Regions from separate parts of the Homo sapiens genome. Here all the other regions are linked to region 2. The links are contacts of gene promoters, found by promoter capture Hi-C in blood cells and fetal thymus (Javierre and others, 2016). All regions are on one chromosome and are shown on one strand. The core of a region is centred on a gene start or on the middle of the fragment in contact, and the rest is flanking DNA. Distances in the headings are between cores, read along the strand shown. Region 1 has its middle 33 kb from the start of SNX19. Region 2 holds the start of ADAMTS15 (ADAM metallopeptidase with thrombospondin type 1 motif 15). Region 3 has its middle 47 kb from the start of LINC02551. Region 4 overlaps SNX19 (sorting nexin 19). Region 5 has its middle 92 kb from the start of LINC02551.

Region 1 (2,700 bases), core at 159-2,658, 500 kb after region 2:
TAGCTATCTTGTTCTAGTAATCTTTCCACCTAGCTACATCTCCTTCTATTTCCCTGCATGCATCCTGTCCTGCAGAGACTTCCATTCTGTCTTCCTGACATGCATGATGCCTTCCTTCCCTTTCTGCCTCTTTCTTCTGCATCGGCCTTTAGCCCTCTTGGTCCCGCTTGTTCCTCCCTAATTTTACCTGAAGGGAATTAAAGAACACAAGCATACTAGAAAAAAAGATGATTCTTTTATTCCTTTGTAGTATTTGGAAAACAGCTTTAAACATGTATAGGTATACTAAAGCTGGAAGAGGTCTTGTGAATTTATTATTTCCTAACTTTAGGCAGAAACTCACTGAAACCATTGCCAGGAACACCCAGTTCTCAGAAAATATTCTTTAGAAATTTCAGTAATATGCAATTTTGAGGGAGGACTTTTAGTGTGGTGGTTAAGAGCACAAACTCTGGAGCAGGTTCTCAAGATTCAATTCCAGGGCCACGATTTGCAAACTGTGTGCCTTCAGACAGGCCAGCGAAACTTTCTGTGCTTCAGTTTCCTCATATGGGAACACTGACAGCGTTTACTTCCTAGGATTGTTATAAGGGCTAACCCAAGTTAATAGATGTAAAATATTTTATGTTTACCTGCATGATAGAGTTTGATACACAGTAAGTGCTGCATAATATATACATGTTTGTTATTTTTAATGAGAAGCTCAACATTTGGGCTTTTACTGGGCAACATTTTTCAGGCCTTTGGGACTTTTGACATGTATAAATTCTCCCTTGGTAGGGAGGAAATGGGACAGGAAATGATGGGAGGAACCTTTGGTGAAGAAGGCAAAATACTACTGAACCTTGAGGTTTTGTGTTCAGCCCCAGGACAGACATTGAAGATGGAAGGCTCGGGCTGATGTCAACAGGTTTCCCAGGGGTCTCCATCCCCTCCAGCATTCATGCAAAGCCAATTCCAGCTACAGACTGCAGCTTGGGGTTGTCTTCTGCAGCTGTCTACAACAGGGACTTGTCAGGGGTAAAATGAAAAATTTTATCATGATTTCTAATTTTTCTCGATGTCTCAGTCATTGAAAGTTTCACATTCAGGGCCATTTGGGTGTCATGAAAACATCAGGTTTAAAGAGGAAAGATGATGGATCGTGAATGTTTATGAGGAGATGGTAGCAATTATAATGATGGTAATGAAGAGTGAAGCGAGAAGATCAGCCTGTGGGGATGCTGCTCCTGAGTCTAGGCTGCTGGAGGAAAGTGCTCCAGTGGGCTTGGGCATTACCATTGTACCAAGATGGATGAAGCTTCTTTTCCAACAGCCCCTCCAGATTCATTATTTTTTTAGAAATATGCCTTGTGGAACCAGGTTTGCAAGTTTTACATTGAGTGAACAGCTATTTCTTATGTTAAGTTATTTTAGCTGAAGAATAGAGAATTGTTGAAATAAATGGCTAGAGAATTCGAATTGTATTCATTCTTGACATTGGAACTGACAAATAGCTTCATTCCCCACTGAAATGGAAAGCTTATTACTCTGAGATACAGGCGGGTTTGAGGGAGGGGGGCATCTGAGTTTTATTTTACTGTAACTCTTGTAGATGCTGTGATACAATGAAATAAAATGCTTTTCTGAAATCCTTCTGGAATCCATCCCTGCCCCATTCTCCATATTTGACTGGGAATAAAACCAATTAAAACAGATTAATTTATAGCCAGTATAAAATCCACTCTGACAGCTGGTTATTACGGCCTAAGCATGGAGTTCTCAGGTAGAGCAGGGCTGGTCGGTGGTGGAGGATGCATGAGAACTGATCATCCTGATGGGTTGAGCTGAGGCACCTTCCAACTGAGCCCTGCCCACCAGGGACTGGGCATCTCCAAAGAGGAACCATCCATGCTGGGACGGACTCATGGGATCTGGAGGATGCTTTCACCAGAGCCCTGGAAACTGTTCATATGAAAATTGCAGATTTCTCCTTGACATCCTTGGTACTGGATGCCTCTCATCCCCCTGCCAGCATGATTCACTGCAAGGAGAGATGCATTGAGCGTGGCAGCCAATGAAGCTGTGAACATAGCAAGGCACATGGGAGCTGCAGGCTTGTGGGGTTGCTGGGCTGGACTCACCCGACCACTCCTGTTGCAAAGTCAGCCTGAACCTTCTGATGTTGTCTTCGGAGGAAGTGGGATGCAGCTGCTCGTCTTCTATACACCATCCCTTCCTGCTTGTATAGTCCTTGATCTTCCCACCATCTCACCTTGTCTTCTCTAACCTGTCAGAGGCCTGCGCATCTAACAGACTTCATGAATGATAACTTGCCATCCCACGAAGTCTGCTGACTTCATACTGATGACTGATTTATAAAGTCCTGATGAAAGTGTCCGCTGAGCACTTGCATTGTCCATGTGGAAATCACGGGATTCTTCTTCATGTTTCTTTAATATCATTTGCCTTTCATTACCTGATTTCTGGCAGGAATCCTCAATATAGAATGTGTGGTGGTCAGCACAGCCTTATGTGTGACAGTTGTAGGTATTTGGCCACTTTCAAATTATGCACTATGAGAGCTGGTCTTGAGGTTGAGGAAGAGAGAGAGAACTTGGGGCCCAAAATCTAAGTTGGAGCTGGAATTTGGCCCTGACCAGGCCAGCACAACATAGCTTAGGGATTCTGGAGCCCCCCTCTTCCAGAAGACTTGAGAGA
Region 2 (2,700 bases), core at 148-2,647:
GTTGCTGTCTCAGAGGGTTGGCGGTTCTGGTGGCTCAAGACCATAAGTAATTATCAAATACTTAGGAAGCGACGGGTTTTGAGTATTTATTACCTTTTAAAAATGTACTTTGTGGCTAGGCATGGTGGCTCACGCCTGTAGTCCCCGCACCGGGAGGCCGAGGTGGGTGGATTGCTTGAGCTCAGGAGTTCAAGACCAGCCTGGGCAACACGGCGAAACCCAGTCTCTACCAAAAATACACACACACACACACACACACACACACACACACACACACACACACAAATTGGCCTAGCGTGGTGTCGTGTGTCTGTGGTCGCAGTTACTCAGGAGACCAAGGTAGGAGGTAGGAAACCAAGGTAGGAGGATCACCCGAGGTCGGTAGTTCGAGACCAGCCTGACCAACATGGAGAAACCCTGTCTTTACTAAAAATACAAAATTAGCTGGGCGTGGTGGTGCATGCCTGTAATTCCAGCTACTTGGGAGGCTGAGACAGGAGAATGGCTTGAACCCGGAAGGCGGAGTTTGCGGTGAGCTGAGATCGCGTCATTGCACTCCAGCCTGGGCAACAAGAGCAAAACTCCGTCTCAAAAAAAAAAAAATATATATATATATGTGTGTGTGTGTGTGTGTGTGTGTATGTATATATATATATGTATGTGTATATATATGTATGTGTGTGTGTGTGCATATATATATATACACTTTGTTTAATTGTAAGTGTGTTTAGTTTAATTTTTAATAATGTCCGTGATTAACAGCTGGCTGGCAAGATTCCTGAGAACTGAAGAGTTTGCCCCAGCCCATCCAGCACACCATGGGCCCAGGGCAGACCTTGGGGCTAGGCGGTCTTGGGTTCCAGAGGGCTCCCATGCCCCTGTCCTATTGCTCTTCTGGCAATAGGACATTTACGCGGGGGGGGGGGTGGTTCTTGATTCTGGGTCTTTTAGGGGACTCTGTGATTAAGAAACAGCAGGGATGTTGCAACAGCAGGGATGAGGTGGGCCTGGGGACGGGTCAGTGAAGGGTCTTCATTCCTAGCTGCTGACCTGATCTGCCCTGAGATAAAAGACTAAGACCCAGAGAGTGAACGCTGTCCGCGGGGGCAGAAGCGAGTGAGGCGTCGGGACAGTGGGGCATAACCAAGAGCAAAACGCAAACTGAGACTTCAGCGCCGGTTTCTCGGGCCAGCCCACGCCTCCTGCCTCAGCTCAATGCCACTCCCTCCCCGCCAAGTGGCTCTCCGCTCTGGAGGCGGGACCGAGTTCTCCGGTGGCCCCTGGAGGCTCCGGCAGCGAGCTCTGGGAGGCTGGGAGGGGAGTGAGGGGAGGGGCGCTGACTGGGCCGTCCAAAGAGGAGGGGGCCTTTAATAGGCTCGCCCAGCGCCTGGCTTGCTGCGCTGCGAGTGGCTGCGGTTGCGAGAAGCCGCCCGGCACCTTCCGCTAGTTCTCGGCTGCAAATCTTCGTCCTTGCACTTGACAGCGATTGTACTTAAGCTCCCAGGGCGCGCTTTGCTTGGAAAGGCACAGGTAGGAAGCGCGGGCTGCCGGGTGCACGCTCGCCGCCCTGGGAGGAGTCTCCCTCCCTTGGCTCTCCTTTCTGGGAACTGCCGGCTGTCCCGTAGCGTTGGCGGTTCCAGAGTGCGGGCTGCACGGAGACCGCGGCAGCGGCCGGAGAGCCCGGCCCAGCCCCTTCCCACAGCGCGGCGGTGCGCTGCCCGGCGCCATGCTTCTGCTGGGCATCCTAACCCTGGCTTTCGCCGGGCGAACCGCTGGAGGCTCTGAGCCAGAGCGGGAGGTAGTCGTTCCCATCCGACTGGACCCGGACATTAACGGCCGCCGCTACTACTGGCGGGGTCCCGAGGACTCCGGGGATCAGGGACTCATTTTTCAGATCACAGCATTTCAGGAGGACTTTTACCTACACCTGACGCCGGATGCTCAGTTCTTGGCTCCCGCCTTCTCCACTGAGCATCTGGGCGTCCCCCTCCAGGGGCTCACCGGGGGCTCTTCAGACCTGCGACGCTGCTTCTATTCTGGGGACGTGAACGCCGAGCCGGACTCGTTCGCTGCTGTGAGCCTGTGCGGGGGGCTCCGCGGAGCCTTTGGCTACCGAGGCGCCGAGTATGTCATTAGCCCGCTGCCCAATGCTAGCGCGCCGGCGGCGCAGCGCAACAGCCAGGGCGCACACCTTCTCCAGCGCCGGGGTGTTCCGGGCGGGCCTTCCGGAGACCCCACCTCTCGCTGCGGGGTGGCCTCGGGCTGGAACCCCGCCATCCTACGGGCCCTGGACCCTTACAAGCCGCGGCGGGCGGGCTTCGGGGAGAGTCGTAGCCGGCGCAGGTCTGGGCGCGCCAAGCGTTTCGTGTCTATCCCGCGGTACGTGGAGACGCTGGTGGTCGCGGACGAGTCAATGGTCAAGTTCCACGGCGCGGACCTGGAACATTATCTGCTGACGCTGCTGGCAACGGCGGCGCGACTCTACCGCCATCCCAGCATCCTCAACCCCATCAACATCGTTGTGGTCAAGGTGCTGCTTCTTAGAGATCGTGACTCCGGGCCCAAGGTCACCGGCAATGCGGCCCTGACGCTGCGCAACTTCTGTGCCTGGCAGAAGAAGCTGAACAAAGTGAGTGACAAGCACCCCGAGTACTGGGACACTGCCATCCTCTTCACCAGGCAGGTGAGTTGATCTGCCGT
Region 3 (2,700 bases), core at 89-2,588, 370 kb after region 2:
GTTCTGTAGCCTCTGGATTCCAGAATTGCATTAGCAGCCATTTGTGTCCTCAGGCCTTCAACCTGAGAGTAATAACATTCGCTTCCCTGGTTCTGAGGCCTTGGACTTGGACTAAACCATGCCACAGGACTCCCTGGTTCTCCAGCATGCAGACAGCTTATGGTAGGACTTCTCAGCCTATATAATCATAAAAGCCAGTCCCCTGATAAATCATCTATCTATTTATCTGTCTATCTATCTATCTATCTATCTATCTATCTATCTATCTATCTATCTATCTATCATCTAGCTATCTGATTTATCTGTCTGTCTACCTAATCTATGTATCCTATTGGCACCCTACTCTCTCTGGCCTCTTGGGTTGTAAGTCACATCTCTTAACATCTGAAAATCTTGGTGGAGTAGATTTTCTGCATTGGATAAGAAAATGAGGCTAGTAAAGCCCCTTAATGAGATTTATCAGATGCGGTTAGAGGGAGAGTGGTTAGAAACCATACCACTTAAAGCTGCCCAGTTAGCTGAGTCTATCCTGCAGAATCAGGGTGGGCTCAGCGCCAAGGAAGGCAGAGGGAAAGAAGTAAGGAAGACTAAGTGATAAGGTTATATAAATAAAAATAGAAGGGAAAACATTGCCTTATCCAAAAAGAACACATTTACATTTTGATTTCATGTAATATACCTCCTGATCCACAAAGAGAATTCCCTAACCTCCCCATGCTATGTGATACCAGGCAAGGCTAATCCCTGAGCCCTGGTCAGAACAGCACTCAGAAAAACATCTGTATGGATTTGCTGGCTTTCCTTAACAGGAGGGGCGGCTCAACCCCTTCAGGGCCTTGTGAAGCTAAATTGCTATCAGGCTGTGCGGGGAAATGCAAGAAGGTTCTTCCTCTGTTACAAATGGGCTCTGTTCTTCCAGACTAGGGCTGCAGAGTATTGGCTGAGGATAAGAGCAGCTCAGGTTAGGAGTGAGGACTTCAGTGCAGAAGATCTTAAACTGGACTCTGCTCTAGAGAGAGAATCCATGAAGCACCAAGGACCTGTCCCACTCTTGGATGCCCCCACAGGAAAGTGGCCTGGGCAGTTTTTTTTGCTGACAGTGGATATGCGGGGAAGAGAGTCAGTGAGGCCAACCCTATTGTCTGGGTCATAGTTGGGTCAAGAAACAAATTTTGCTCAACAGGAACAACAAGGAAGTAATGACATAAACCAATCAAATTCTCTCTCGGGGAGGGAGAATGTGTGATGTGCCTAGAAAGGAGGGCCCATCAGGCTTAGACTCTGCCGGAAACTTCAATGGGTCCTTTTTCCAGCTCCCAGTGCAGTGTGCAGCATGTCCCCGGCGTGGGAAGGCTGAATCCTAGTGGGCTGTCCAGATGCTCGGAGGCTTTCTCAGCTGCTCCAGTGCCCCATGTATCTGGACAATGACCCTCGGCCCCAGAGCTAATCTGGGCATGGAGCGTTCTTGCGATTCCAAGTCCACTAATAGGATTGTAAAAAATTTTCCACTGTGAGGTGATGATTAGCTACTGTTGCTTCTCATGATCACCCTCCCTCCTCCATGCATATATGCCTAGCTTGTTAATGATCTATAAGTCTTCTAAAATGACATCTTAGCTCAAGCATCTTAAAAGTTTTCTGAAATCTAATGACTATAAGGGACTAGAGCAGAGTCTCTGCAGAACATTTGAGGTCATCCTCTCCAATCAGTGGCATTTTTCAGAGGACCTGCGCCTTCCTTACATGGACCCCCGAAGCTGTAGGTACCTGGCCCTGAGTGAGGGGCAGAGCAAGTTTCTCCCTGAGCCTTACATCACCCACCCGCCCCCCGCCCCATGGCAGTGAGCAGGAGGGTGTGACATTCTGAGGGCATAGGTGCTTGTCATCTTGACCTAAGTTTGCCTTGATATGACTTAGCTACACGTGCTTTGGAAAAAAACAAAAACAAAAACAAGCCAACCTGGTGAGAAAGCCTGAGATGGGATTGCTTCTCGGCCTTTTGGATAAGTCAGGCGGAGAAAGCCCGTGGTGGGAACTGGAGCAATTCACTCTGGGGACTTGTCTGGTGAGGTCTGTTGCTGGCTCCTGTGCGGGTGGACCCTGGAGCGCTGCTCCCTGCCTGCTTAATCCTACTTCCATCACTGAGGAAAACAAACATTTTGGCCATATTTACGCAGCATTTGAATCACATTTTAAGTCATAATGCCAGGTCATATGACTAGAAGACTAGTGATAGCAAAGAAAGAAGCACAAAGAGTAGATTACAGGTGTGGCCATGAGATGGGCTCCTGAAGGTCATTTCATCCACCCCCATGTTTCTACCTGTCCTAAGATTTCCAGAAAGAGGGAAGGACTGGAAGGAGGCACATTGTTTTTAAGTGTCAATTTTTTAAACGGAGAATCTAATTTTCTGGAAGTATTATTGGTTAGACTTTAAAGGAAGGATTTATGTTCCTATGAATTGTGTAGAAAGGAATTTTAATAACAGAGAGGCAGTGTGAGGCAACATGGGCTGAGATCGTAATTCAGGGACGAAAAGACTTTCCAGGAGGGATTAGCAGGCACTGCAAACTCCGTTACCAGAAAGCACTTCTATGTACTGGAGTTCTGCAGTGAATACACTTACAGGCATTTATTCACACAGTTAATAAATAACCCATCGCTTGCCCTTGCATCGATAATAACCGAGATCTGAATGCT
Region 4 (2,700 bases), core at 12-2,511, 430 kb after region 2:
TCTCTGGGTGAGCCTGCACCTATACCTTCCCAACTCTCCTCTGGCAAGGCTGCACCTATTATCTTTCTAGCTCTCCTCTGATGGGAAGCATTATAACCTTCTTGGTAACATGTACACACAGACTTCACAGCTACGGACTTAGCGATCTTTAAACAAATTCCTCTCTCTACCTCCCCAGCCATATCTTCTGGTCCTCATGACTGTCTTAGGGATTTCCTACATCTGCCCTTTGTTCATAATAGTTCTCTCACTAACAAGGGCCTCTTCTCGCCTTGCCTGAAGAGCAAGTCTCAAGTCTGCCCTTCTGGCAAGACCTGTTTCAACCCTACTTCCTCCATGAAATCCTTGACCATCACAGCTGGAAGTGCTCTCCTTCTCCATAGACCTCCTTTGGCAGGTAGCTCTGGAACAATTACTTTGGAATATGCATCTTTTTAAAGGTGTTTATAGCTTTACTTCTTCAACTAAATTATAAGCTGTAAGAGTTCTGTGTCTTGTACTTTAAAAAAACTCCCCGCCGTGCTTGGTGCTCAAGAAATGGTTGACTGACTGATAACTGTTCTTATTTCAATGAAAAATTTTCCCTTTGTCTTACTTTCGAAAATGAGTCAAAATTTTCCCTTTATCTTACTTTCAAAAATGAGTCAAAAATGAGGGGGAAGATATACCAAATCTGGAGTTCAGCTGGAAACCTAGAAAGTGGTTCAACGTTATTCTTGATCTGTTCCTGAATTTTTTTCAAAGTGATATGGTCAGAAGTGAGGTTCAAGGCTGTTGAGGCCTCCCCTTCACCCACCTCATTTAAGACTGACATAGCTGTGTGGGTCATGGATGGACAATCAACCACTTCTATTCATGCACGGAAGACTCGTTTGATCCTGCACCACATGGCAGCTCATGCCATCACTCCTCGCTCCTATACTCGAGTCACTTGTCACTCATCCAAGAGCAGAGGGGGCTGCCAAGGCAAACTTTATTTAACCTCCACTCTGCCAGACAGTCTGCATTCCACTCAAGCTGGGCATTCCAGCCATGAGGGCTGCAATCCCCCAAGCCCAAGGCTCACAACTGATTCTAAGAATAGGAAGTGTGTAAGGTAATAGCAGGGCAAGAATGGCAGCCATCGATGGAGATCAAGAGTGGCACAAAGCTGTTCTTGTCCAAAATAGCCAACACGATCGTATTTGTTATTATTAGGGCCGCATCTCCTTTTTATAGGGCTTTTCATTCAGTGAGCCTAAGATGCCTGATGAAAGGAATCCAGTAGCAAGAATTCCTGTTCCTGTTTATGTAAGAGGGTCACTAGAGGGAGGTGGCTGCAATGACCTGATCGGCTTCTCTGCAGGGGATTAAGTGACCCAAGGTCTCCTTTCTTCACCTCAAGCCATGTATACTTCTGCAATTTTTGCTGAGGAGAATGATGTGTCTTAGGGTCTCATCTAACTGTCTTGAGGGAGAGGGGCAAAGTCTTGCAAACTAAAATCTTTAGCCACATGATCCTTCCTAGACTGAACATGTTGTAACATGCCAGCAAGCCTAGGTACCTCAGCCATCTTCTGGCATGTCTTACAAAGCAAGAGTTACATTCTTTTGAATGAACATTAATTTATCTGATGGGGACAGGACCTCACATGGCATTAGGACAAGGATATCCTCCTTGTTCTCTTGCATGGTGATTAAGTGTCTCATGTACATGTGTGGGATGCAAAATGAATTTTATCATGTGGCAAAATATAAATTTATAAACTTATACAAATCTATAAGACAGCTTTTCAGACTCTAAATGGAAATGTTGGGGAGAGACATAAAAGTAGGAAAAGTAAAAATAAGCACCTGATGATGAAGATGAGTCTATGAGTCAAATAAATTTGTGGAAGCTAATAAGCACAACTCACCGAAGAAAAGGAGTGCCATCTCTGAGTAAGTATCAGCTGCTGATGAGACAAAGACACTGTCAAGCACTGTACATACAAGGCACAGAACTGGCCAACAGGAGGCCCTGGAAAAAGTCAGGCCCAGGAATATAAGAAACAGGACTTTCACAAACTGGCAGAAATAAACTCCCTCCAGGCCTACAAAGAGGGACAGAGTTTGGAAAGTGACTTCTAGTCCCTGGGAGCTGCAGAGTGCCAGCTTTCCTTATTCTTCTCCACACTCTGAAGATAAAAGACACAAACCACACACTTGCACCACGCATGGTTTAAACATTTGCTCTCTTTCCTGGATTCTCCTCTTGCCTACGTTCTGCCCACCCTTCCCCCTGTCAGCAAACAGAGGCTTTATCCTAGGCCTTTGGGCTCAGCATGGTCTTATTTCCTAGTCCCAGGCAGCCTGTGTAGAAGACCAAGTGCAACAAATCTTTCTTGTTCACAGAACTTCTGAGCGATGGTGTCTCGTTAAAAATGATGAGCACGCCAATCTGGAAGGAAAACATGATAAAGAGCAAACCAAAAAAATCACCACCACAACTGCCACTGCCCTCACACAATACAATCTCTAAATTTTTTAAGCTGTAATTCAATTTCTAAGACACACTTTATTATCACTCACTATGCCTTTCTTAAGTTGTAAATGGCTGTATATTCAGGGATTTGGTATACTTTGCCTTGCCCAACACCTGGATGGAACCAACTGCCACTGGTTCTTGAGAGCAATGAAGAAGGTGGAGATTTCTTCATCCAAATATCTTTCCTCTCCCTT
Region 5 (2,700 bases), core at 30-2,529, 320 kb after region 2:
GTTCCTGGAATATCCTACATATTTCCTGCCTACTGCGACTGCTTGTCCCGGAACTCTCAGAGCATGTCCACACATAGGAGGCAGGAAAAACCATCAGATACCACGGTACATGTCCTTAACCAGTTTCACTCCAAGGTTGGGCTTGTAAAAGTTAAGTAATTTTGACCAGTAACTTGAAATTCAAAGCATTTTTATAGCAAAACATTCTATAGAGTAGAATCAAACATTTACATACATTTAAAAAATAAAACAGTCTCGAAGTAGGATGTATCCCCAGACACCAAGGATACCCGTGTGCCCACGTGCTCACTGAGAAGTTCTTGACTGTGATGTTTATTAACACATGTTTCCAGCAGTTGTGTAGGACTTAGAGTGAAGAATAAGGAGAGTCCCTGAGCCCCGCCTAATAGGAGCTGCCAATGTCACAGACAGCTTATGTCTGTCTTATAGGGAACACCTAAATCAAGGCTATTCTATGGGCATCTGTATGAATTTGCTCTGCTACCATAACAAAATACCGCAGACCAGGTGGCCTAAGGAACAGAAATTTATTTCCTTAGAGTTCTGGAGGCTGGAGGTCGAAGACGAGAGTGCTGGCAGGGCTGGTTTCCTCTGAGGCCCTCTGGCTTACAGACGGCCACCTCCTTCAGTGTCTGCATGCGGCCTTCCCTCTGTGCCTGTATCCTGGTGTCTCTTCACGTGTCAAAGTTTCCTCTTTTTATGAGGACACCAGCCGGAATGGATCAGGGCCCAAACCAACGGCCACATTTTAACTTCATTTCCTCTTTAAAGGCCCTGTCTCCAAGTATAGTCACATTCTGGGGTGCTGGGGGTTAGGAATCAAATACACGAATTCTGGGGAACACGATTCAGCTCTAACAGCATCTAAGACAGCTTCACCATTCCTCAAGTGTGCTCTGAAGGAAAAGCAGAAGCCCGCTGTTCACATAGCAGGGTCAGGGTGAGGGTGAGAGTGAAGAGGGGGTTGCAGTGGAGAAGGAGCCGTTCCTGACAGCAGGAGCAGTGCTTTTGTGAGGTGCAAGACCATCATGTGTGGGAGGAAGCTCAAAACTCCGCGTGCTCCTGGAGCCCATTGGGAGGGAGAGGTGGAAAGTTGCAGGAGGTGAAACAGGAGCCATGGCCAAGATCACACCCGGCAGGGCACTGAGCACCGAGCTGGGAGCTGAGAGTGCGTCCTGTGGACTTTCAAGAAGACAGTGCTGCGGTCAGACCTGCATGCTGGAAAGGTGATCCTGGAGACACGGTGAAGCAGGTGTCAGAAAGAGCAAGGCTGGGGACAGGGAGACCTCTTAGATAACGGACAGAAGCCCAAAAATGGATGAGGCTCAGTAGTTCAACTGAAAACATTGTCCTTCAGATCTAAAGTAGTCTCCTTCCAGGGTAAGCGATCCCCACTTCCTTCCTGCACAAAGAGAATCATACTAGCGAATATTTCTCACAAACTTAGCGTGTGCCAGGCCATGATCTAAGTCCTTTACCTGTATGAACTTGTTTATTCTTCTCTGTGATTACTGCCCCATTTACAGATAAAATCAAGGAACATGAGATTAAATGGCCTCTCTAAGGTCATAAAATTAATGAGGGGAAAGCCAGGGCGTAACTCAGGTAGTCTGGCTCTATAGGCCACACGCAATCACTGTGCTGCACTGTCCCTACTAAGCAAATGAGAACCATCTTCCACATACCTGCTCAGCCAGAAGCTGTTGCCATCTTTCCACATTGCCCATCTCCGGGAAATGCAGCTTATTCCCAAGGAACTCTGAGGTTTTGTAATGGATGTCATTAGATAGACTGAGCAACCTGGTTGCAGTCCTCCTCCCACTCACATTCCACTTTCCCTGGAATAAGCTCATCGTCAGTTGCTGTGTATTGGATGCCCTCAGTGTGCTGAGCTCTAGAGGTGAGGGGTAAATAAGCTGTTTGTTTTCTGTCTTAAGAAGCTCACAGTCTAGATGGTGGAGTGCATAGAGAGGCCAGCGACCCCTGCAGAGGGATGAGAAGCAAGTCTGGAATCCTCTGTAGTAGAAAGCTGTATTCAGGGGAATGGTGTTTGGGGGTAAGAAAGGAAAGTCCTTTCTTTTTTAAAGGGATTTCCATCACATGCTCTCAAGACAGCATTACAGGGAGATCACACCCAAAGTGAGGGTGCAATCCTCATAGAACTCATTGCTGGGAAGATGTGGCCAGTGATGAGTTCCGTGAGGACTGAATCCTCACATGGATAAGGCACACGGAAATGTCTAAGGAATATGGCCACATGACAGAGGAGAGAGGACTTCATTCATTCATTCATTCATTCATTCCACAAGCATTATTGATGACTTACTGTGTGCCAGGCAGTGTACTAAGCAGTGCATGAATATCAAATTGAACCATGCTCCAATAATTCACTCCCAGACCCCTGCAGTGGAGACGCCTGTTGTCACCAAATATCAGAGAATTCTTCATTTGTTTCTGACCCTTAGTACCTGCTCAGAAGACAGAGACCTTTTAACAGAATTGGGTTTCATGTTTCTCCCCACGCTGCCAGTGAGCCTTCTTATGTCATAAGAAACAAACTCTCGAGCCGTCCACAGGGAATAGGGGTGGCACTAACATGCTGCCTTGTTACTGACGTTTGAACAGCATTGAGAGGCAAGCAAATCAATGACTTCCTCCTCTGAAGCAAAATCAACTTTA

The links. Contacts are between HindIII fragments. The CHiCAGO score rates a contact against its expected background, and 5 or more counts as called.
Region 1: a fragment that was not itself captured here is called in contact with the fragment with the promoter of ADAMTS15 in region 2 in 4 of 17 cell types (total B cells, naive CD8 T cells, total CD4 T cells and 1 more); the score reaches 9.8 in total B cells.
Region 3: a contact is called between a fragment that was not itself captured here and the fragment with the promoter of ADAMTS15 in region 2, in 1 of 17 cell types (endothelial precursors). The highest score is 5.2, in endothelial precursors.
Region 4: a contact is called between a fragment that was not itself captured here and the fragment with the promoter of ADAMTS15 in region 2, in 15 of 17 cell types (naive B cells, total B cells, fetal thymus and 12 more). The highest score is 13.4, in naive B cells.
Region 5: a contact is called between a fragment that was not itself captured here and the fragment with the promoter of ADAMTS15 in region 2, in 1 of 17 cell types (endothelial precursors). The highest score is 6.5, in endothelial precursors.

Annotation. Positions count from the first base shown.
Region 1 is chr11:130,948,530-130,951,229 of GRCh38, forward strand. No RefSeq gene overlaps it. Among named protein-coding and RNA genes, the nearest start is that of SNX19, 33 kb to the left of the region's middle. The HindIII fragment of the contact is 221 bases long and covers 1,299-1,519 here.
Region 2 is chr11:130,447,248-130,449,947 of GRCh38, forward strand. It overlaps ADAMTS15 (ADAM metallopeptidase with thrombospondin type 1 motif 15), which reads left to right and starts at 1,398. Exons shown (of 8, transcript NM_139055.4): 1 at 1,398-2,683. The coding sequence starts at 1,727. The HindIII fragment of the contact is 10,038 bases long and covers 1-2,700 here.
Region 3 is chr11:130,814,115-130,816,814 of GRCh38, forward strand. No RefSeq gene overlaps it. Among named protein-coding and RNA genes, the nearest start is that of LINC02551, 47 kb to the right of the region's middle. The HindIII fragment of the contact is 7,529 bases long and covers 1-2,700 here.
Region 4 is chr11:130,881,415-130,884,114 of GRCh38, forward strand. The region is part of intron 8 of SNX19 (sorting nexin 19); the gene reads right to left. Among named protein-coding and RNA genes, the nearest start is that of LINC02551, 21 kb to the left of the region's middle. The HindIII fragment of the contact is 3,697 bases long and covers 1-2,700 here.
Region 5 is chr11:130,768,452-130,771,151 of GRCh38, forward strand. No RefSeq gene overlaps it. Among named protein-coding and RNA genes, the nearest start is that of LINC02551, 92 kb to the right of the region's middle. The HindIII fragment of the contact is 4,264 bases long and covers 1-2,700 here.